7 separate regions of the Homo sapiens genome follow, and regions 2, 3, 4, 5, 6 and 7 are each linked to region 1. The links are contacts of gene promoters, found by promoter capture Hi-C in blood cells and fetal thymus (Javierre and others, 2016). All regions are on one chromosome and are shown on one strand. Each heading gives the region's core, a stretch centred on a gene start or on the middle of the fragment in contact. The rest is flanking DNA. Distances are from core to core; before and after follow the strand shown. Region 1 holds the start of PPP4R3B (protein phosphatase 4 regulatory subunit 3B). Region 2 overlaps GPR75-ASB3 (GPR75-ASB3 readthrough). Region 3 holds the start of ERLEC1 (endoplasmic reticulum lectin 1). Region 4 overlaps PSME4 (proteasome activator subunit 4). Region 5 overlaps ASB3 (ankyrin repeat and SOCS box containing 3). Region 6 overlaps ASB3 (ankyrin repeat and SOCS box containing 3). Region 7 overlaps PSME4 (proteasome activator subunit 4).

What was found. Contacts are between HindIII fragments. The CHiCAGO score rates a contact against its expected background, and 5 or more counts as called.
Region 2: a contact is called between a fragment that was not itself captured here and the fragment with the promoter of PPP4R3B in region 1, in 1 of 17 cell types (total B cells). The highest score is 6.3, in total B cells.
Region 3: the fragment with the promoter of ERLEC1 here is called in contact with the fragment with the promoter of PPP4R3B in region 1 in 10 of 17 cell types (total B cells, monocytes, naive CD8 T cells and 7 more); the score reaches 13.9 in total B cells.
Region 4: a fragment that was not itself captured here is called in contact with the fragment with the promoter of PPP4R3B in region 1 in 1 of 17 cell types (total CD8 T cells); the score reaches 6.0 in total CD8 T cells.
Region 5: a fragment that was not itself captured here is called in contact with the fragment with the promoter of PPP4R3B in region 1 in 4 of 17 cell types (total B cells, total CD8 T cells, naive B cells and 1 more); the score reaches 7.9 in total B cells.
Region 6: a fragment that was not itself captured here is called in contact with the fragment with the promoter of PPP4R3B in region 1 in 9 of 17 cell types (total B cells, naive CD4 T cells, activated CD4 T cells and 6 more); the score reaches 16.8 in total B cells.
Region 7: a contact is called between a fragment that was not itself captured here and the fragment with the promoter of PPP4R3B in region 1, in 6 of 17 cell types (M1 macrophages, total B cells, naive B cells and 3 more). The highest score is 8.1, in M1 macrophages.

Annotation. Positions count from the first base shown.
Region 1 is chr2:55,616,014-55,619,134 of GRCh38, forward strand. It overlaps PPP4R3B (protein phosphatase 4 regulatory subunit 3B), which reads right to left and starts at 1,609. Exons shown (of 17, transcript NM_001122964.3): 1 at 1,131-1,609. The coding sequence starts at 1,272. PPP4R3B-DT (PPP4R3B divergent transcript) reads left to right here and starts at 1,917. Exons shown (of 3, transcript NR_186624.1): 1 at 1,917-2,369. RefSeq lists enhancers at 565-1,491, 1,492-2,416, 1,510-1,909, 1,930-1,979. The HindIII fragment of the contact is 10,945 bases long and covers 1-3,121 here.
Region 2 is chr2:53,813,704-53,817,013 of GRCh38, forward strand. The region is part of intron 1 of GPR75-ASB3 (GPR75-ASB3 readthrough); the gene reads right to left. It overlaps ERLEC1 (endoplasmic reticulum lectin 1), which reads left to right. Exons shown (of 14, transcript NM_015701.5): 12 at 840-917; 13 at 1,157-1,232. Among named protein-coding and RNA genes, the nearest start is that of ERLEC1, 28 kb to the left of the region's middle. The HindIII fragment of the contact is 2,730 bases long and covers 370-3,099 here.
Region 3 is chr2:53,785,362-53,788,650 of GRCh38, forward strand. ERLEC1 (endoplasmic reticulum lectin 1) reads left to right here and starts at 1,683. Exons shown (of 14, transcript NM_015701.5): 1 at 1,683-2,011. The coding sequence starts at 1,850. It overlaps ASB3 (ankyrin repeat and SOCS box containing 3), which reads right to left and starts at 1,592. Exons shown (of 10, transcript NM_016115.5): 1 at 1,460-1,592. The region is part of intron 1 of GPR75-ASB3 (GPR75-ASB3 readthrough); the gene reads right to left. RefSeq lists enhancers at 1,082-1,740, 1,256-1,675. The HindIII fragment of the contact is 9,655 bases long and covers 1-3,289 here.
Region 4 is chr2:53,875,497-53,878,475 of GRCh38, forward strand. PSME4 (proteasome activator subunit 4) reads right to left here. Exons shown (of 47, transcript NM_014614.3): 42 at 131-259. Among named protein-coding and RNA genes, the nearest start is that of GPR75-ASB3, 17 kb to the left of the region's middle. The HindIII fragment of the contact is 553 bases long and covers 1,104-1,656 here.
Region 5 is chr2:53,748,904-53,751,944 of GRCh38, forward strand. It overlaps ASB3 (ankyrin repeat and SOCS box containing 3), which reads right to left. Exons shown (of 10, transcript NM_016115.5): 3 at 1,880-2,038. GPR75-ASB3 (GPR75-ASB3 readthrough) reads right to left here. Exons shown (of 10, transcript NM_001164165.2): 3 at 1,880-2,038. Among named protein-coding and RNA genes, the nearest start is that of CHAC2, 17 kb to the right of the region's middle. The HindIII fragment of the contact is 311 bases long and covers 1,503-1,813 here.
Region 6 is chr2:53,769,122-53,772,322 of GRCh38, forward strand. All of the region lies in intron 1 of ASB3 (ankyrin repeat and SOCS box containing 3), which reads right to left. All of the region lies in intron 1 of GPR75-ASB3 (GPR75-ASB3 readthrough), which reads right to left. CHAC2 (ChaC glutathione specific gamma-glutamylcyclotransferase 2) reads left to right here. Exons shown (of 3, transcript NM_001008708.4): 2 at 2,786-2,821. Among named protein-coding and RNA genes, the nearest start is that of CHAC2, 2.9 kb to the left of the region's middle. The HindIII fragment of the contact is 190 bases long and covers 1,402-1,591 here.
Region 7 is chr2:53,911,044-53,913,972 of GRCh38, forward strand. All of the region lies in intron 20 of PSME4 (proteasome activator subunit 4), which reads right to left. Among named protein-coding and RNA genes, the nearest start is that of GPR75-ASB3, 53 kb to the left of the region's middle. The HindIII fragment of the contact is 2,420 bases long and covers 346-2,765 here.

The sequences.
Region 1 (3,121 bases), core at 359-2,858:
TTCACCCTATTCCCATACACCCTTAAAGGAAAAATTAATCTAAAACCAACAATCAAACCAAGGAATGAGGAGACTAGATGACTATTAAAATTTTATTGAAATAAAAATTTTAAGGTCTAAATGACCACTTCAAGCCATTCGTTTTAACAAAAGTTGTTTTATTGCATTCCCAGTTTAACAAATAATGCAAATTACAAAACAAAAACATCATGACAGGGATTAAATACTTAGTATAGAAATTACAGTGCTGCATTTATCCTTTCCTCATTAAGAACAAAAGAACACCTTCTGTAGAAGTGATGACTATTTAAAATAAAAGGGAACAAGCAAGAATACAAAATATGTCAAGACTAAACCTAAGATTATTTTTCTAACTGCCTATATCAGTTGTTCAAATCAAGTCCAGATTATACTATAAAAGGCATTTTAATTACGGCTCTACATTTTGTAATTTAAAATACTTCACATGACTACAATAAACCAAAGAACACAGCAGTTTACAACCTGCTTTGGTGTCCCAACTTGCTTAGATTGTAAGGCATTCACTTTCTCATAGCGCCTTCTACAAAGGCAGCCCGAAGAAATGCAGACTACAGATGTATGTGCTTGTGTGTCCATGTATCGTGGCAACAGTCAGCAATACAGCCAGGAAAACGTGCCTTTCGGTTTTCCCCAGCACCTGTCGACTGTGGCACCTGGGGCCCGTTGGTACAATTTTTTTTTTTTAAAAACACTCGGAAAGAAAAGTTTCCCTAAACCGTTTGTACTAGACGTATAATGGATAAGTAAATAAAGGGGGAGGAAGGTGTCAGCTCCTAGGGCGACATCAGTACCTAGTCTCTCACTACTTCCTCCCTTCTCTCTCACACTCTCCCCTCTTCAAAAGAGGAGGGACTGGAAAGGAAGGAGTCCAATCCTTAAGAGAGATGGGAGAAGGACAGAGAGTCTCGGTCTCCGAGGATAAGTCCAGTCAAAAGTACAGTACTTTGTTTTTGCCGTACACAAGAGCCAGTTCAGAACCAACGCGCTGTCCCGAAGGAGTAGCAACGGTAACGGGCCCAGGGCCCTAAACCCAAGCTGTGCCCCAACCAGAGGCACTATCCCCTATTCTACAGTTCCGATAACCTTACCGTCGGACTCTGCCCGAACCAGCAGCGACATCCCCTTGAGCTCCTCCACGTAAGTGGAGGAGACGTGCCCGGTGCCTCGGTCGTCCCATTGCCGGTCTTCGTTCAGGGTATAGACCTTCACTCGCCGCCGCGTATCCGACATGGTGGCTGCTGTCTCCACCGCTCTAGCCGCCGCCTCCTCGCTTACCTCGTCCGCGCTCCTCACTCTTAGGAGACGGTAAAGGCAGTAGTGGCGGTGGCGGCGGCGGCGGCTTCGGAGAGGCCCGAATTCACCATGGCTCCAAAGGTTCAGCCGCGAGAAGGGGTGACAAGAGCCACTGAGGCCTCTCCGCCCGGAGGCCCCGTTACCTCTCACTTCACCCGCGCATACACCCACTCTCCCGTCTCTTTGCCCCCCAGGGCTCGCTTGCTCTCCCGCCGCCGCGGTAACTACTACAGATCCGCCATCTTGTAACCCGACTCTCTCTGCCTTTCTCTTCCTCCTCCAGCAGGCTCGCACGGGCTGTCCTAGCAGGGGCTACGGCGGCCGACAAGTCCCATGAGCAGCACCTCCGCTTCTGCACGCGCTTCCCAGGCCGGAATGCTCGGCGCTCTCGCGAGGAGGGGTACCGACTGGGGCGGGAGTACTTCGGCGAGACTTCCTCCTCTTTCGGCCCGACTTCCTCCTCTTTCGGCCCCGCCTCTTGGCGCGGGGTCGCAATTGGGCGGGAGGTTCTCGCGATCTCCCCGTCCACGCCTGCGCCGCGAGAGGCCGCTAGGTGGAAGGGGACTTCGGTTCCGCACGTCGTCATGTTGTTGGATGGCACCAGTATGTGACGTTCCTAGGAACTTAGCTCTGAGGAAAAAACAAAGCAAACCGGGGAAGTACGTAGCCTTGAACCGGAGTAACCAGGGACAGAAAGGAAGGAAAAGGGTTTCATACCTTCACGGAACGACGCTCACTTCGTCCGCCTGAGGAGGAAAAATAAGTTTAAACCTTTCTGTGAAAAAGAACGTGGAGCCCTTTCTGCCGAATGGAAACCCGCTAAACCCCGTTATGGAGTCTGCTACAATTAAGCATCTAACCAGGAATTGTCTATGGACACAACTCTCCAGGCAATTCATGCAGAAAGTGTGTTGACGATTTCCTGTTTCTTGCAGAGCGCTTCACCGTTAAGGCTCTTAGTAGCTGGCGATTGTAAAGCACATTTTCCGCTTCATGAAAATACAGTGCTCTTCTTGTGTTTGTAACCTTGGAAAGTAAGTCTGCTATGATAAGTTTAGGGAAGTGGCGGGGAGCTACTTTCCTAACATATCTGTGATTGTTTTGATACTTCTCAGTTTCTCGCGGGCATTTCCTGCGTTCTCTATAGGGCTCTCTTGCACTGAATAAGGAAAGGAGGAATTCTCTCTGCATTGAGGCTATTATCGCACATTGTGCGGTGGATATAGTCACGCGCTGGGTCGTAGTAGCGTGTCGTTTATTTCAGTCCAGCTCACTCTTGGTAGAATCCCTTTATTCGTTTTGTTGTTTTTGATAGTCTCTCTCTGCTTCCCAGGCTAGAGTGCAATGGCGCTATCTCGACTCACTGTAGCCTCCGCCTTGAGGGCTCAAGCGATCCTCTCACCTCAGCCTCCCGAGTAGCTGGGACCGTAGACGCCTGCTCCCCATCCCCGCTATATTCGTTCTTTAATACAGTCTCTCAGCTTGTTCAGCTGCCACTTCTGTGCAGCTCATTAGCCTGATCGGTGAAAACTAGGCGAGACGCGCACACTGACCCTGCAGTGCATCTTGGGAGTTGTAGTCATAACTAATCAATGGTCTTGTTAAAACGTGCTTATGTTTTGACCAGATCGCTTAAGTGTGGACACCCTTCAGCAGTACACTACAACGTGGGTCAGTGTACAGAACACATGCTGATAGAAATAATTTCAAAATCTGGATTCATAGTTTTTTTTTTTAATCTAGAGACCTCAGAAAATGTACTTGAAGAAAATCATCATAATATAAT
Region 2 (3,310 bases), core at 485-2,984, 1.8 Mb before region 1:
TCCTAAAACAGATGATTTGGATTGTTTTCAGAGTGTACTGACTTTTCGGGCTGATAAAAGTCAAAGTCAGCCAAATTAAAACATAGACTTTTTTTTTTTTAATACTTTAAGTTTTAGGGTACATGTGCACAATGTGCAGGTTAGTTACATATGTATACATGTGCCATGCTGGTGTGCTGCACCCATTAACTCATCATTTAGCATTAGGTATATCTCCTAAAGCTATCTTCCCCCCTCCCACAGACATTTAATTATTGTACTAAACAAATTGATTTTTCTTATCCTTGTAGGTATATGTTTTATGTGAAAACAGTTTGTGGTATCATGTACAATATATGTTGAAGAATGAGTGTTAGACTGGTAAAATGAAGCTTTTCTTTGGATCCTGCTCATTTGAGATTGACAGTTTGGCCTAGGCTTTGTCTTCTATACTACAGTGCCTAACGAACAGTATTTTAATGGGAGTAGCTTGATGGAGGACGGAAGCAAAGAACTGTTTTACAAAACAATATAGTGGGCTAGGGAAATTGATAACTTTAAAACAATTTTTTTAAAGGAATCTAACCAAAATTATTTGTATACAAATAAATAATATGCAAGTTGAAAATAATTATTAACTAAGCCAGTATGAAGTATCTCTTATATTCTCTTTATAGAATCCAAGAGAATGCCTCTGTGAGATAACCCTAAAAATATTTTTTTAAAGAATATTTTATAGTCAGGTTTTTTTTTAACTAATGCAAAACTGATCCCTCTAACCATCTTCTCACCCTACCCATTACAATTATTCTATTAGTGAGATTTTAGTTTAATAAAACTTGTGTGTTTCTCTGATTCAGGATGGTGTCACATTTTTATGGAAATGGAGATATTTGTGATATAACTGACAAACCAAGACAGGTGACTGTAAAACTAAAGTAAGTTAGACCATCAAATCATGCTGTATGCCTTTGTCTTTTAACTGCTTCCTATGGACAAAAGTTTTATGTAAACAGTATAATTATGAATAATTATGAAAGTATACCATTTAAATTATTGATAAAATTATATTAAATCATACAGGGTCCACTTGAGTGGGATTTTTAAGAGTACAGTTATTAACAGTGATCTTACTTTAAATGATTTGGACAGTACCTTAAAGTGCTCTCTGTTTTAGGTGCAAAGAATCAGATTCACCTCATGCTGTTACTGTATATATGCTAGAGCCTCACTCCTGTCAATATATTCTTGGGGTAAGTTAAAAAGAAAATAATCAAAAATTCCATTTTGAGCCATGTTTTAATTTTTTTTTCTTTTTTTTTTTTTTTTTTTTTGTTTTTTTGAGACGGAGTCTTGCTCTGTGGCTCAGGCAGAGTGCCGTGGCATAATCTTGGCTCACTGCAACCTCTGCCTCCCAGGTTCAAGCAATTCTTCTGCCTCAGCCTCCCGAGTAACTGGGATTACAGGCGCACACCACCACACCCAGCTAATTTTTGTATTTTTAGTAGAGACGGGGTTCCACCATGTTGGCCAGGCTGGTCTCAAACTCCTGACCTCAGGTGATCCACCCACCTCAGCCTCCCAAAGTGCTGGGATTACAGGTGTGAGCCACCACGCCCGGCTGCCATGTTTTAATTTTTTGCATTAAGTTTAGGAAGGACCTTCAGTAGTCTCCAAGGCTTAATATGGCCCACATACCACTCATGTAATAGTTGACATGGTTTTTCTTGACATTTTTTATTGAGATATAATTTACATGAAATAAAATCCACAGATCTTAAGTGTTGAGCTTGATAAGTTTTGACAGTTATATACACCCATGTAACTATCACCCAAAACAAGATATGTCACTGCAGAAAGTTCTATCATACTCCCTTCCAGTAAATACCCCTTAGCCTTGCTCAAAGATACCCATTTCTGATTTATGACATTGTAGATTAGTTTTGTCTCTTTTTTGGATTCCACATGAATGGAATCATATAGTGTATAATATTTCTGTACCTGAACTCTGACTCAGTGTAACACTTTTTTTTGGTGGTGTTTTGTTTAGTTGATTTTTTTTCTATTGATACATAGTATTTGTATATGTTTACAGGTTACATATGATACTTTGTTACATCCATAGAATATGTAGTGATCCAGTCAGGGTATTCAGAATATTCATCACCATAAGCATTTATTGTTTCTATGTGTTGAGAACATTTCAGGTCCTCACTTCTCAACACATCTTAACAGAGGTCTGGACATTAACTCTTTGTATTTGTATTGCACATATTTTTTTCTCTGTCTGTGGCTTGCCTATTCATTTTTCTTTCTTTCTTTTTTTTAATAGAGATAGGGTCTCACCATATTGGCCATGCTGGTCTCAAACTCCTGGACTCAAGCAATCCTCCCACCTTTGCCTCCCAAAGTGCAGGGATTATAGGCATCGGCCACTACACAGGCTGGAATGCAGTGGCGCAATCTTGGCTCACTGCAGCCTCTGCCTCCCAAGTTTAAGCAATTCTTGTGCCTCAGCCTTCCAAGTAGCTGGGACTACAAGCATGCACCACCGTGCCTGGCTGATTTTTGGGTTTTGGTTGGTTTTTTTTTTTTTTTTTTTGAAATGGAGTCTCACTCTGTCACCCAGGCTGGAGTGCAGTGGCATGATCTCGGCTCACTGCAACCTCCGCCTCCTGGGTTCAAGCGATTGTCCTGCCTCAGCCTCCCGAGTAGCTGGTATTACAGGCATATATGGTACCACGTCCGGCTAATTTTTGTATTTTTAGTAGAGACAGTGTTTCACCTTGTTGGCTAGCCTAGTCTCGAACTCCTGACCTCAAGTAATCTGCCCGCCTCGGCCTCCCAAATTGCTGGGATTATAGGTGTGAGCCACCCGCACCCAGCCCCATTTTCTTATTAATGTCTTTTGGTGAATGAAAAATTTTTATTTCATGAAATTCAATTTATCATTTATTCCTCTTTAATAGCTAACGCTTTTTGTGTTCTAAGAAATTTTTCTACCCCAAAATCATGAAAATATTCTCCTATATTTCCTTCTAAAGACTTTATGGTTCTACCTTTGATTATCTAATGCCTAAATGTGGTTTTCTCTGTATTTATCTTGCTTGGAGTTCACTAAGCTTCTTGGATTTGTGGGTTGATATATTTTATCAATTTGGGGAAATTTTTGGACATTATCTCCTCAAAGATTTATTCTGCTCCATTCTTTTTCTCCTCTATTTCTGATACTCCAATAAGACATGTTAGTATAAAATTGTTCCAGAATCTCAGACACTGCTTTATTCCCACTTTTTTTCCTTTGTTTCGATTTGGGTCATTTCTGTTAAGC
Region 3 (3,289 bases), core at 433-2,932, 1.8 Mb before region 1:
CATTTTTATTCCGTCAAATACATCTCTTTTCCTTCATGACTTAAGACTAGTGCTTAGCACAGAATAAATGCTAAAAAAAAAAAAAATTGACTATTACTACTATAATAGTTTGCAATTATTTGTTTGTACAATCTCCCTGCCTAGACTGTGTGACCAAAGACAGAAACCCATTTATTTGGCATTTTACCAAGCCCAGGGGGGCCAGGCACAGTGGCTCAGGCCTGTAATCCCAGCACTTTGGAAGGCCGAGGAGGGCGGATCACCCGAGGTCAGGAGTTCGAGACCAGCCTGGCCAACGTGGTGAAACCCTGCCTCTACTAAAAATACAAAAATTAGGGTGTAGCGGCGCGCGCCTGTAATCCCAACTACTCGGAAGGCTGAGAAAAAGGAGAATCCCTTGAACTCCAGAGGCGGAGGTTGCAGTGAGCCAAGATTATGCCTCTGCACTCCAGCCTGGGTGACAGAGCGAGACTTTGTCTCAAAACAAACAACAACAACAAAAATCCCAGGAGTCTGGATCACATTAAGCATTAATAAGAAGTGCTGAATATAATTAGCGAATAACAATTCTGAAGAAAGTTATCTTCTTTGATACTATGGATTCCTGATGTTAAAAAAAAATTTTTAAGATAGAATATGGGACTGTCCTTCCTGCTTTTTGATTTGGTTCAAATCTGAGGAAGTGGGGGCGACCAGTCTTTAACAGATCTAGCAAGACTGTCGAGCTTTAGGGAATGGTAATTTCTCTAAAGCCAACACTCTATGTCCATTATATTGGAGATCAAAACAGACAATGGCATTTTTTCTAAAGAGGGGGAGGGAAAAACAAAACTTTTTGTCTAATTTGGGGATGCAGTCAGACGTGACTTAGTTCATAAACACACACATTCATCTGGCGCTAAACCTCACATAAGGAACCTTACCAGCTTCCTTGATAAAACAACACCCCAACACTTCAATCTAGAGATGGAGGGTAAAAATGTAGGGTTGTGATGTCTAGCTGCCCATTCCACGAGAGTCGCCCACCACGCCAAATTCGGAGGCTTGCGGTATTCACCTACGGGGAGATGGCGGGCTACCTCACCCCAGGTTTCCCCTAACACAGAGTTGCAGTCGCTGAACAAACTGCCCTGCGTTAGTCAGAAGCTGTTAAGTAACGAGATGGCCACGGTCCACAGCAGAAGAGATGGAGATAAGCCTCAAGCGGGAAAAATGAAGTGTACAAATGCCAAATGCGGAGAAAAAGAAGAAAAGCTGCAAGAAGGCAGGTCAGTCAGGAACACCGCCATTTCTCACATCTCATCGCTACTTCGAATTTTCTCATCTAAGGACCCGCACCCGCACGGTTCACACTGTCTTCTTCCCGCTATCACTCCGTGTGGGTCAAACCTCTGCCTGCCCACTGGAGAGCAGCGGGAATGGCTTCAGGAAGCGGCTGCCGCCTCCGAGACTCACCGACCTGCCGTGCTGCCACTTCTACACCGAAATGGCTGGTCCGAGGCCGCGTCTCCAGAGCTGCGTCCCAGAAGCCCCCGCTTTCGATCCCCACCGCGATGCTGCAGCCGTCCGAAAACGAGAGACGCGCAGGCGACGTCCCGGCCCCCGTAGGCGGACGGCTCCGCGACCCCCGGATGTTGATATGTCGTCTGCCCCGGAAACGGTGACAGGAGGCTCAAGGGGGCGGAGGCGGCGTTGCCGGGCTCTCCGGAAGGAGACGTGGCGGCGGTTGGGCCGGTGATACCCGGGCGCTTTATAGTCCCGCCGCCTCCTCCTCCACCTCCTCCTCCTCCTCCTCTCCTCCTGGAGCAGAGGAGGTTGTGGCGGTGGCTGGAGAAAGCGGCGGCGGAGGATGGAGGAAGGAGGCGGCGGCGTACGGAGTCTGGTCCCGGGCGGGCCGGTGTTACTGGTCCTCTGCGGCCTCCTGGAGGCGTCCGGCGGCGGCCGAGCCCTTCCTCAACTCAGCGATGACATCCCTTTCCGAGTCAACTGGCCCGGCACCGAGTTCTCTCTGGTCAGTGCCCTCACTAACCCCGCAGCCACCCCTCCTCCTGACACTAAGGGTTCGGCCTCTTCCCTCGGTTTTCTTTGCTTTTTCTCCCCAAGACCTTCTCTGCAGACTCTTACCTTCCCCAAGCCAAAGCTGCTTTTATGCAGCGTTCATTCATTCGTTCGTTCTCACGTTATGTGGATGCGTCCCCCTTGCTGAGCATTAGGGATCCAGCAATCACCTGCTCTCCACCTTTTCAATTCTGTCGCACTAGACCTTGCTTCCCAACATTCCCACCCTGCAGAAGCAGCTTTCGTAGAATAACGTCAGGTGCACTTACTCATCTTCCTTTCGGAAAATTAACTGTGGCTCTTACTTCACCAGCAGACTTCTTTCCTTCAGTATTACATGTCACCCTGCCCACACCACAGTACTTCAGACTCGAGTTCCCTCTCTCGTATTCGTTCTCCCTCAGTTGTATACACACACGGACATACGCAAACGCACAGCTCCAAGGGAACTTTTTCCTTTCCTAGTTGTTTCTGAGAGGGCTATTTGGCCTGTGAGATGTTAACGACCCTTTATGCAGAATATCCTTTACAGTTTTCATGTATTACGACTGTTATTTGAGTCCCCAGAACATGAGCTTCTATGTTGAGTTTTCCTGTAGTGAAGAACATTTGTAACCTCGCGGAAATGAAAATTCCCTCTTGGGGGAGTGGACCGCTGAAAAGTCTTCCTGTCCACGTGTACCTACTGCAGGCTAATAAATATTGTACTCTTATGACACTTACCATGTAGTAATTAACTCATTTACTTCAAATTGAAGTCCCGGAAAAAGCAAAATTTTTTTAAACTTTTTATTCCAATTACCTTCAAGCATTCAACTTGCAATACTTTATTATATTCTTTCATTACCATTTCATTGAAACAGTAAGTGACACTATGATGTCAAAACAAGATGTGTCAAGTTAATGGATGTTATTACCACATAGCTTTCTATTTGCAAGTGTTAGGGGTTTTTTGGTTTGGTTTGGTTTGGTTTGGGTTTTTCTGTTTTTGTTTGTTTTTTGAGACAGGGTCTCAGTCTGTTGCCCATTCTGAAGTGCAGTGGTACGGTCACCACTGGCTGCAGCCTCGACCTCCTGGGCTCAAGAGATCTCCTCAGCTTCCCAGTAGCTGGGACTATAGGGAAATCCCACCACTCCTGGCTAATTTTTTTTTTTTTTTCTAGAGGCAGGGTCTCACTATGTTGCCTAGGCTGGTCTCGAACTCCTGGGCTCAAGCAATCCTCGTGCCTGA
Region 4 (2,979 bases), core at 130-2,629, 1.7 Mb before region 1:
TGTCTTCTCTTATACTAAAAGAAAATTCAAAACAAAAACTAGGCGCTGTGTGCACTGCAGCTGACTGAAATTCTTAGAATGGTAAACCAAAATCCTAATCAAAAGACATAAATATTATAAACACTCTTACTTGTTTTAGCACCTGAAGTACCAAAGGCACTTGATGAGGGTAAAGCAACCCCTGAGACATTAATGATAAACATAACTTTGCATCTCTTTTCAGTTCATCGTAGCTATTGTCATTTTCCACTGGGGCAATCTAAAAAACAATGTAAAAAGGACAAAAATGGAAAAATAATTGCCAATAAGTACAAAGGCATCCTACATGAGAGACAACACATCTTTAATTTAACAATTTTTATGGAAAATTTCAAACACATAAACTAGAGAATAGCATAATGAACCCCCATGAGCCAATCACCTCTTCAATAATGACAAACTCATAATCTTTTGTTTCATTTTTCCTCCCCTCTGACTCTCATTCCCCAATGAAATTATTTGAAGCAAATCCCTGACTGTTTCATCCTAAATATTTTATTATGTTATTTCTAAAAGGTCCCTTAAAAAAGAATCATGTAATGGACATCATCACACATAAAACTTCGTTACAGTTATAATATAAAATATGTGGCGGTACTCAGATTTCCCCAAGTACCACATTCATGTGTTATTACAACTGGTTTTTTGAAATCAGGTTTAAGGTAATGACCACATATTGTACTTACTTGGTATGTTTCATAAATCTCTTTCAATGCATATATTCCCCCCCGCAACTATCTTAAAATCCCTTGCTCTGTATTTTTTTTCCTCAGGGAAAAAAAGCTGTGTCTGTTGTTTTATAGTTTCCCCACTGTGGCCTTTGCTGATTGCATCCCTGCAGTGGTATTCCTTGGCCCCAGTAAGTCTTATAAATTGGCTATTAGATGTAAAGGTCTGACTTTATTGAAGTTTCACTTTTTTGGGCACAACATAAGTGGTGCTGTGTATTTCTTTCATTGATATTTAGCTTTGTCTTTCTGTGATAATCCATTATAAAAAGAGAGATTTGCGAAATGGTCATTCCTTCTTCATTATTAGCTAGAATACTTATATATATATATATAAGCTTTCCCTCATTTGGAATAATGATTTCCCTTCTGTCCTCCAAAAGTAGATAAGAATTTTTAAAAGACTATCATTATGAATTCCAACAAATCTGATGGCTGTAGCCACTGTCATTCTTTTTTTTTTTTTTTTTTTTGAGACAGGGTCTTGCGCTGTAGCCCAGGCTGGAGTGTAGTGGCACAACCATGGCTCACTGTAGCCTCAACTTTCTGGGGTCGGTGATCCTCCCACCTCAGCCTTCTGAGTAGCTGGGACCACAGGCACGCACCACCGTGTCCAGCTATTTTTTTTTTTAAATGTATGGTAGAGACAGAATCTCACTGTGTTGCCCAGATTGGTCTCAAACTCCTGGGCTTGAGCAATCTTCCTGCGCTGGCCTCCCAAAGTGCTGAGATTACAGGCATGGGCCAGTGTACCCAGTATCCGTATTTGTTTTAATGAAGAAATCAGGTTTGTCTGGTACCATACTTTGACTATGAATGTATGCTGTCTGATGCCTTAAATACGTTTTAAATATTTAAAAAATATACCCTTGCACATTCAGTAGGGGAAAGCTTTAATAAAGTTTGCTAAGGGACTCCGGGGTGCTAAGTTGGAGGGATTCTCATGAGGCTGGCATGGATAACAGAGCAAGATCCTGCCTCTACAAAAAAAAAAAAAAAAAAAAAAATTAGCTGGGCTTGGTGCCACATGCCTATAGTCCTTGGGAGGCTGAGGTGGGAAGATTGCTTGAGCCCAGGAGTTCAAGGTTACAGTGAGCTATGATCACAGCACTGCACTCTAGCCAGGGTGACAGAGTGATACCCTGTCTCTTAAAAAAAAAATAAAGTTTGCTAAGGGAAATTATTTCTATCAAATACTGGACAAACTATCATAGTGAATTAATACACTCAGCTTGAAACTGTTGTTAAAAAAAATTATTCTGACATTTGATAAATTATTAAGGAAAAGTTTATTCAGCGACATCAGGGGTAGGAGGTTTCCTCCTAAACCTACTTAACGGGATTCCTGCAAAAGGTAGAATAGGGTGATCAGATACCAAGGGTGGGGGATTCTTTCTAAACTAGATTAGAGACAGTCTTGCTAAAACTGGACCAAAGACAGACAGGCCAAAGACAGAGCCCAAGGTTGAGATCTAGTCAGAAAGATGGCTCAGAGGAGCTGACTTAAGTTTGGTCAAGGAGAGCCTTTGTCATAACAAAGGCATGATTCAGTTCTTTTTTTGTTATGGGTATGCAAAGACATTTCATAATGCTGAGCTTTAAATATTTTACCTCAGTTAATATAATCCTTGGTATTTTAGAATAAAAATTATTTCTTTTTGCAAATTAAAACCATACTGAGTTATATGTTTCCACCTGTTCTACTGGGAAAAATCGGGATGTTTAATATCATACTGTAAAAGTGAGTCTCTGAGGAAATAACCAATAAAGAGGGGTGTGTAGGAGTGTCTAGCAAAAGCACATATTCATTTACTTTCTACTGGCTGTTGCAGGAAGTCAGGGACCCCAAACGGAGGGACCGGCTGAAGCCATGGCAGAAGAACATAAATTGTGAAGATTTCATGGACATTTATTAGTTCCCCAAATTAATACTTTTATAATTTATTATGCCTGTCTTTACTGCAATCTCTGAACATAAATTGTGAAGACTTCATGCACACTTATCACTTCCCCAATCAATACTCTTGTGATTTCCTATGCCTGTCTTTACTTTAATCTCTTAATCCCATCATCTTCATAAGCTGAGGATGAATGTCGCCTCAGGACCCTGTGATAATTGTGTTAATTGCACAAATTGTTTAAACAATATGAAATCTGGGCACCTTGAAAAAAGAACAGGATAACAGCAATGTTCAGACAACAAAGGAGATGA
Region 5 (3,041 bases), core at 408-2,907, 1.9 Mb before region 1:
TAAGATTATGATCATCATATGGTAGTCAGAATTTTATTGCTTTTAGGAGTTCACACTGAAGTAGAAGTAAAGGAGCGTGATGTCTACCACTTAATCTCAAAAGGATTAAAAAAAATACAAAGAAGGAAATTAAATGACAAACCTGGCAAAAGAAGAAAATCTGGGTGAAAAGTATATAAGGAACCCTTTGTACTGTTATTGACTACTTCCATAAGTCTGAAATTATTTCAAAACAAAACGTCTAAATACAAAAGTAATGAGGAAAAAGGAAAGATGGAAAATAATCATATGAATAGATGCTCAACATCATTGGCAATTAGGAAAATGCAAATAAAAACCACAGTGAGATACTACTAAACCTCCATTAGAATTACTAAGATGTAAGGGAGAAAAAGAAAAAGCTGGCAATAGCAAATGTTGGCAAGGATATGGGGCAACTAAAAGTCTCAAACATTACTGAACGAAATGCAAACCAGTAGAAAAAAACTTCCAACTTGTTTCCCAAAGTTAAACATATATTTACCATATGTCATACCAATCCTAAGTATTAACCCAAGAGAAATAAAAACTTATATTGATACAAAACCTGTCTGCAAATGTTTATAGGAGATTTAGTCGTAACCACTAAACAGTGAAAACAACTCAAATATCCAACTGATAAATGGATAAACTGTATCACATCTATTTAATCACATCTATTTAATAGAATACGATTCAGCTAACAAAAAGAAATGGATTATTGATACATGCAACAATATGGATGAATCTCAAAAGTATCATGACAGCTAAAGGAAGCCAGTCTCAAAGGCTATATGGTGTATATTAATTCATATATATGAACAGATCAGTCACTGTCAGGGGTGGAGCTGGGGAGAGGGAAGAAAATATTGATTAAAAATTGGCAGCATGATGGAATTTTGAGGAGTGATGGAATGGTTCTATATCTTGATTGTTGTCATTACAGAATTTTATGAATACATCAAAACTCACAGAACTGTTATATTAAAAAGAATGAATTTTACTAAAGTACATAAATTTAAGTAATATTTTTAAGTCCACAAGGAAAAAAAGTACTTTCACAGACAACTCATTTCATTCTCAGACCAATAACAAAGACTAGATAGGTACTATTACTCTCATTTTATAAGTGAGGATACTGAAACATATAGTAAATAAATAAATATACAAATTACATGTGGCAGGACCAAAACTATAGTCCAGATGCACTGATTCTATTCCAAACGCTTCATTGACTCAATTTTCTCATGTTCCACTAAACTTTATGGGACACAATGTCCCTGAAGACAAATAGAATCGAATAGAAAAAAGGAGGAAAAGAAGAAAAAAGACAGTTATTGGAAGAAAGCCATTTAGAATTTGGCTGTCGTCCTTAAGGAATTAAAAAACAGTCTGTAACAGAAGAGGTCTGAATTAAAAAACAGATCCATACAGGCAACACATTAACTGGCATTAAAGTATTAGCTGGTGATTTCTTCCATAAAAGCTTCTTAATTTTTTAATGTTAAGAAAAGGCAAAAGCAAACATAAAGCATTCACAGGTAACCTTGCAACTACTGCTACAATTTAAGTGATACCTGGTCTTCAGAACTACAGTGAGAACAATGATGGTGCCTACAATTCGAAACAGATTTTGCAACTTTAAATAAACAAAGTCCCAGAAGCTACCACCCAAGAATAGAAAACAAGAGCAAAACCTTTAAAAATATCTTTTCAGTTTCAAAAATCAAGGAAGTAGTGGTATGATAGTTGCCAAAAGAACATACTATAAGCACAACAGCTGAAGGAAAAATTAAGCTTAGTTTAACAAAAAAATAATAATGATGAAAAATTGCATCTGCACCACAAATAGCATACTTACCTAAAAACAATGGTGTCGTTTCTTCTAAAGTAGTTGCATTAGGATCTGCCCCAGCTTCTAAAAGAATCTGTACGATTTTCCAATGTCCTTGACTTGCAGCGAGATGCAAAGCACAGAAACCTTCAAAGGTCTTCATCTTAATGTAGTTTTCAGATGAATCTGTGGAAGAATCAAAGCCCATCAACTAGAAGGTATTACTTCTATTTCCTGGTTTTAAAAAGCAAAGATTCCAAGAGGAATTTAATGAACTATTAAAATGTAAGTAATGTATAAATGACAGGTTTCACCATTTAAAACTATAGAAAATCAAGAAAAAGTTCTACAGAGATCCCACTGTGAACAGCTCTTTGGTATTCTTAATACACAAATCCTGTCCACTAGCTCCCATTTTCTCTTCTCTAATTTTTGGTGAATAAGGGAAGAGGAGTGGCAGAAATTGAAAGGTAACAAAAGCAATAGTCTGAGGAGGATGCAGCACTAAATATTTGCTTAAACAGAATTTATCGAAATATTCATCAATTTTATTTTTTTATTTTTAAATTTCTATAAGGGAAATGGTCTGATCTCTTACCATTACTTCCTTGTAGTCAACTAATACCATGAGGCAGTTTTAAATACTCCTTTTCTAACTTAAGACTATGGTTTAATTGTTAATGAAAACTGCAGTTCTAAAAGAATAAAATGCACTCTAACACAACCAGTGACATATAATAAGGAATTTATGAGTTAAAGTTTCCGAAATGTATTTGTCATGAAAACGTCAAGGTTCTGGTAACACTCAAATTATACAAATGATATTTACACAATAAAATTCTATGCCCATTATAGAAAGATGGGCTCTAAAGTGAAGGGTGAAGACATTTCTGAGAGCTGGAATAAACTAAACAGAAAATAAAAAAAAAAACTTAAACATTTTCTTGAAGTGTCAGAATTGAAACAAATGCTCCTAACTAGTTATCTATTTTAAGTAATTCTTGTCATTGTAACTCACTGATGAAACAAGTAGATTAAGCCATGATATCCCAGTAACAGCTTCTAAGTACATATATTCAAAGAAAACAGTCTCAAACTTCACAGATGCACAACTAAAGGGCAAGATAGAGTAGTCATATTTTAAAAGGACATATCACAGAAATAGGGTTTCAGAGATTAGTCAGAAGTT
Region 6 (3,201 bases), core at 247-2,746, 1.8 Mb before region 1:
GATCAACAGAAATGTCATGGCCAAAGTATCTCCAAGAATGTTCTAGAACAATATTCAAGACATTAAAGAACTAAGCTAAATTAAATGGCTTCTGAGTTGTCAGTTTTGGCTGGGCCCGGTAGCTCACGCCTCTGATCCCAACACTTCGGAAGTTTGAGCCAGGAGGACTGCTTGAGGCCAGGAGTTTGAGAGTTGTCAGTTTTGATATGAATATTTAAAATTGCCATTCCGAAAAGAAAACCTTTAGCCCAGGCTCCAATTATAATGACCAAGTATTAAATATTTATGTATGTGGCTATAACAACATACTTTACTAGTCTTGACGAAAATGTACAGTGTGTTACAAAACACATTGAGATATGTATGCTGTCAGAATAGACTGATGATTAGAAATTGCCTAGTCAACACAACAGTCCGTGATTCTTTAAAAGGAGAAAGGGGCTGGCCAGGCGTGGTGGTTCCCGCCTATAATCCCAGCACTTTAGGAGGCCTAGGCGGGTGGATCACCTGAGGTCGGGAGTTCAACACCAGCCTGACCAACATGGAGAAACCCCCTGTCTACTAAAAATACAAAATTAGCTGGGCGTGGTGGCGCACGCCAGTAGAGTCCCAGCTACTCTGGAGGCTGAGGCAGGAGAATCGCTTGGGAGGCAGACGTTGCGGTGAGCTGAGATTGCGCCACTGCACTCCAGCCTGAGCAACAAGAGTGAAATTCCGTCTCAAAAAAAAAGAGCTAAAAAAAGGTGTCTTTCTGATCACCTAAGACTCAGAATTCTAACTGCACTTAATACCATACATCTTAGCCCATATCTTAGCTCTATTTATTTCACATGTTAGTTTGCATTCTAGAATGACAATATAAGCTACTGGAACCAAGAATCAAGATTTCATCTTCTCCACAGCACACAGTAGCTATGCATAAATAACTTCTAATTCACTTTGAAATTGAAAATAATATGGCATTATCTACTTGACCCTCACCAATATATATATATCCTCATTGTAGCATCATCTTAAAAAGAAAACAAGTCAGAAATCTAAATGTCCAAGAACACAGGAACGTTTATAGTTCATCAATGACACAATATTATGCAACTATTAAAATGTATGAGAAGACTAACAGGAAAATTAAATGAGAAATCATAATCCAAAATCCCATGTGTTCCATGATTACAAATTATCTATACGAACAGATGAAGACTAAAAGGAAATAGCAACAAAGATGACACAAATGCCTGGATGATTTAGGCTCGCTATGTGCCAGACATTGGGCATACAAGTAGGTAAAATTGTGGCTTATGACTCAGCATTCCCATGAATGATGTTAAGGTATCAGTACACATACAGCCTTTGGTACTCCGTGGACGAAGTTTATTTAAAAAAAAAAAAAAAAAAAAAAAAAGCTTGCAGGCACTGATAGGTGTCACCTTTGTGCCTTAAATTATGGAACATTCCAAGTCTGGACTTTCTCTAAGGCTTTCCATTTATAAGCAAAGACTGTTTTATCAGTCTTTGAAATGGGAGAACAAATAAAACTTGTTTTGGCTTCATAATATATCATTTCAACCTCAAGTTGAATAGTAAAAAGTGAAGCTTTCCATAATATTGTTAACTGACCTGTGTTAAAACCAAAATGGGAAAATAAAATTGCCTAGAACACAAGTGGTCTGATTGTCCCATATAAGAACTACACGAATAGGCCAGTTCTAATACTGACCTTTAAATAGGGCAAAGTAAAGTTCATTTATGAATGTAAAAGAAATGCCTACCTTGAAGCACCATTACCATATACAGAAAGGTAAGAACACTTCATAACTCAGAAGTGTAAATCACTCATTCTCTCTCACTTAAAACCTCTTAATATCCCCTGGTAGCAGTGGTTCTTAAAGTATGAGCCCCAGAACAATTTCTGAAATCAGCAGGAAAGTTGTTACAAATGCAAATTCTTAGACAGCTCCAGACCTACAGAATCAAAAACTCTGGAGGTGTGGCCTAACAATGTCTTTGTCAAGCCCTCTAGGTCATTTTGATCCACTAAATTTGAAAGTCACTTCCCTATATATAGGAAAGCACCCTTTATGTCATATTTTTTTTCCCCTAATAAAACTATAGGCCGGGTGCGGTGGCTCACGCCTGTAATCCCAGCACTTTGGGAGGCCGAGACGGGTGGATTACCTAAGGTCAGGAGTTCCATACCAGCCTGGCCAACATGGTAAACCCGTCTCTACTAAAAATACAAAAATTAGCTGGGTGTCTTGGCGGGCACCTGTAATCCCAACTACTCAGGAGGCTGAGGTGAGAGAATTGCTTGAGCCCGAGAGTTGGAGGTTGCAGTGAGCCAAGATCGCACCACTGCACTCCAGCCTGGGCTTGTTGAGCAAAACTCCGTCTCAAAAAATAAATAAATAAATAAATAAAACTATAACATTCTTTTTTCCTTAAGGGAAAAACCAGAATATTTATAATTACTGCTTCCATTTGCCTTTCATTTTAGATGACCTTTAGTTACTGGTATGTTTTCCAATATATCCATGTAAAGTGAATATAATATACCTAATACGTATAAATTGATGGAAATCTTTTAGAAAGGCCAACACAGTCTCTAGATAAGGTAGGTTCTCTTAATTCACTTAAGCTTTATCATAAAAAATAACTATGCTTAAGAAATAGTGCTTCTTATGAGCAAATATAATTCAAATATTCCATGTCAAAAATGTTGCTAATGCTCAGCTACTTAATGAACTTTATTAATTCAGAAAAATTTTTTTTTACCTTTTTAAAACAGCCTGGAAGAGTTGTGACTCTTGTTGAAGATCCTGCGGTATGGTATAAATATTCTTTTTTGTATAATTTTAATTTTATAAAATGTTGCGATGTTTCTGTTTCAATTTGATTAACAATCATCACAGACAATTTGAACTACCCTAAATTTAGAATTCTTCTCTGTATTTGTGGGTTTTTTTTGTGTTTGTGAAAACTGAGGCCAATAAGAAAAGTTAGAATGCAGAGTGCAAGGTAGACAACAACGTACAGACAAATAGCATGTAGTTTTCGTTTTTGTGGGGTTTTTTGAGACAGAGTCTAGCTCTGTCGCCCAGGCTGGAGTGCAGTGGCGCGATCTCGGCTCACTGCAAGCTCCGCCTCCCGGGTTCACGCCATTCTCCTGCCTCAGCCTCCCAAGTAGCTGGGACTACAGGCGCC
Region 7 (2,929 bases), core at 306-2,805, 1.7 Mb before region 1:
GCTATATTGTATACCCTCAAAAAGTAGCTGAATTAAATGGGTTATCTCTACCTTAATATTTGACAGTTATGAATTCAGGTATTTATCTAAGTAATAGGTAAAAACATATTTCTAAAATGTCAGTTATTTAACTATGTTTCTCACCATAACCCAGTACAGAGGATAGCAACAATACCTTCTCAAGTTTCAAAACCAAGCCCATAGAGTATAAACAAAGAATGGCTTCTTTTTCACTAACTTACTTCAAAGCTTATTAATATTGTATATTAATAGTATCAAACGTTAATTTGCTTTTTCAGACTTTCAAGACCAAATTCCTCTTAAAATTTTGTTTTCCTTCTATAAAGCTTCAACCACTGGCAAACCTGAGCATCTTAAATATTTTTGCATGATCAAAAATATGTATGTATCCAAAATCTGTTAGTAAAAAATAAAATCAGATTCCTTTACATGAACGTTATGTCTTTACTGAAATTAGATTTCACCAAAGAGAAAAGGCCTGTACTCAAGAGTAACAAGAATAAAGCACAAGAGAGTTCCCACCCTCCCCCCGCCCACTGTTAGAGCAGGGGAAGTGCTTGCTATGAGCCATCCTATTAGAGTATGTGTCTCCCCACTGCTGCCATAAACACTTAGTTTTCTGAAGTAGAAATATACAGTCTGCAGCTTATGCAGTCTGTATCTAATGCCATATAATATTAAATCAAGCATGAATTTTAATTACTGTCACTTTAGTTACTGTCATATTATACAAATTAAAAAAAGCATTCTTTATAACCAATTATTCTCCATAGTTTTTACTATATCTAAAAAGCCTGTCATTTGGGAATTTAAAGTTTTTCAAACAAGTTTCATCTAAGAGTCCTGACACCAAATTTCTTAAAATCCATGTGACACTTTGAATTGTTTTCTTATCAGGGAATTTGAAAAATAATCATTTATGCTGACTACTTTAAAAAATCCTGTATAAGATTGTAAAATATTAAGTAATGTATTTAAATAAAAGCCTTATCTTCTTCCTCGACTTTTAAAACTTGGATTAAAATACAGCTTCCATATCTCCTACACAGAGGTGACCCTTGAACAACACAGGTGTGGGTCTACTTACACGCAGATTTTTTTTTCAACTAAATGTATTAGCCAGATGAGAAATCTACACATATGGAGGGCTGACTTTTCCTGTATGTGAGCTCTACAGGGCCTACTGTGGCACTTGAGTATGAATGTATTTTGGTATGCTGTAGGTCCAATCCCCTAACTTCACCAAGGGAAGACTATATATAGGACATATCTGGGTAGTATACATTACAGCTTTTGTTTATTCTTATCCACCATAATTTGATCTCTTCTTGCCTACCACAAATTAACTGGATTAACATGATTTACAATAAATGCTTCTCAGCAAGTGTAGCTATTTATTTATTTATTTTTCAAGATAGGATCTCCCTCTGCCACCCAGGCTGCAGTGCAATGGTACGATCATGGCTCACTGCAGCCCCAACCTTCCTGGCTCAAGTGGACTCACATACACCTCAGGCTCTTGAGTAGCTGGTACTACAGGTGCACACCACCTCGCCAGCTAATTTTGTTTATTTACTTTTTGGTAGAGACAGGGTCTCGCTATGGTGCCCAAGCTGGTCTCAAATCCCTGGCCCCAAGCAATCCTCCTACCTCCACCTCCCAAAGCACTGGGATTACAGGCATGAGCCATAGTATCCTACCTCTTCTGACCTTTAGAAGATTTTTTACTAAAAGAAATCTCTACCCATTACCCAAGTAAAATATCATGACTGTATCTCTTTGTGACATTATAGATCTCATTGTGCCCAGGATGTAATCTGTGATATATTAAACTGTTCTGGTAGCTTTTAGCTATGCACATAATCTTAAGTGAATAGTCTTAAGGCACTGTCTTACAGATCTATATTCTGACTAAAAGCTATGTTAACAATATGTAAGTCAAATCAAATTCCATCACTACCTCTCCCTTCCTCATGTGAAATCCATCCTACTCATTCACTAGTTCATTTTACAAACCATAGTATCATTTAACCTAAGGAACAATACAATTCAAAAAAATAATTCCAGCACAACATACTGTAAATAACACCCTCTATGTAATAATAATAAAATTAAATCTGCTTCATAGCTTCTAGATAGTACCAGGCCACCTAACATATAGTAAAATGTATTAAAATATTTGTACCACTAAAAAAGGACCTATGAATTTTCAACAACTATAGTATTCGTACCACTAGATGGGAATCTTCTTTAGATATGATTAGAGCAGGACTATGAAAAGAATCACTGGTAGGAAAGAAGGGATGCTGAAAAAGAAATAACTAATAACACAAAAACAAAATATATAATACAAATCACATATGTAAATGAAGGCTGGGCGAATTGTCATGAAACAGCTGTAAACAATAATATAAAATTCTTCCTGTGTATAAGTGAAAGAACATCCTATCTTCCCAATAACCCTTCCCCTTCCAAATAAAAATAAACATAAAAGATGTAAAACCAAGCCACTAATAGATTTTTTCCCTTCAAAGTACAAATGTCTCACAAGAGACAGTTAGGCCTATTTTTGTGTTCTATTATCCAATTCAATCCTAGGTAGCAATAATAACTATAAACACAAATGAAAACCTGGCTCTTATCCTGCCAGTGAACAAAGGGTCACTAAATAAAGAGAAATCTTATATGTTGCTAGATTTTAAATTAACTCTGAAAACAGGAACTACTTCCAAGTCTGACACATAAGCTTTTAAAAATAAATGAAAACAGTCAGAAGGTGAAATAAGGAGAAAACAGGGTTACTCACCGTGGAGTAGTAACTGTTTCCTTTTCTGTGTGCAGCTCCCCCAGCAGAGCTGGGTAGTTTCCTGGAGGTGCCAAGAGAGGTTAGCTAGCCCTGCCCCTCATT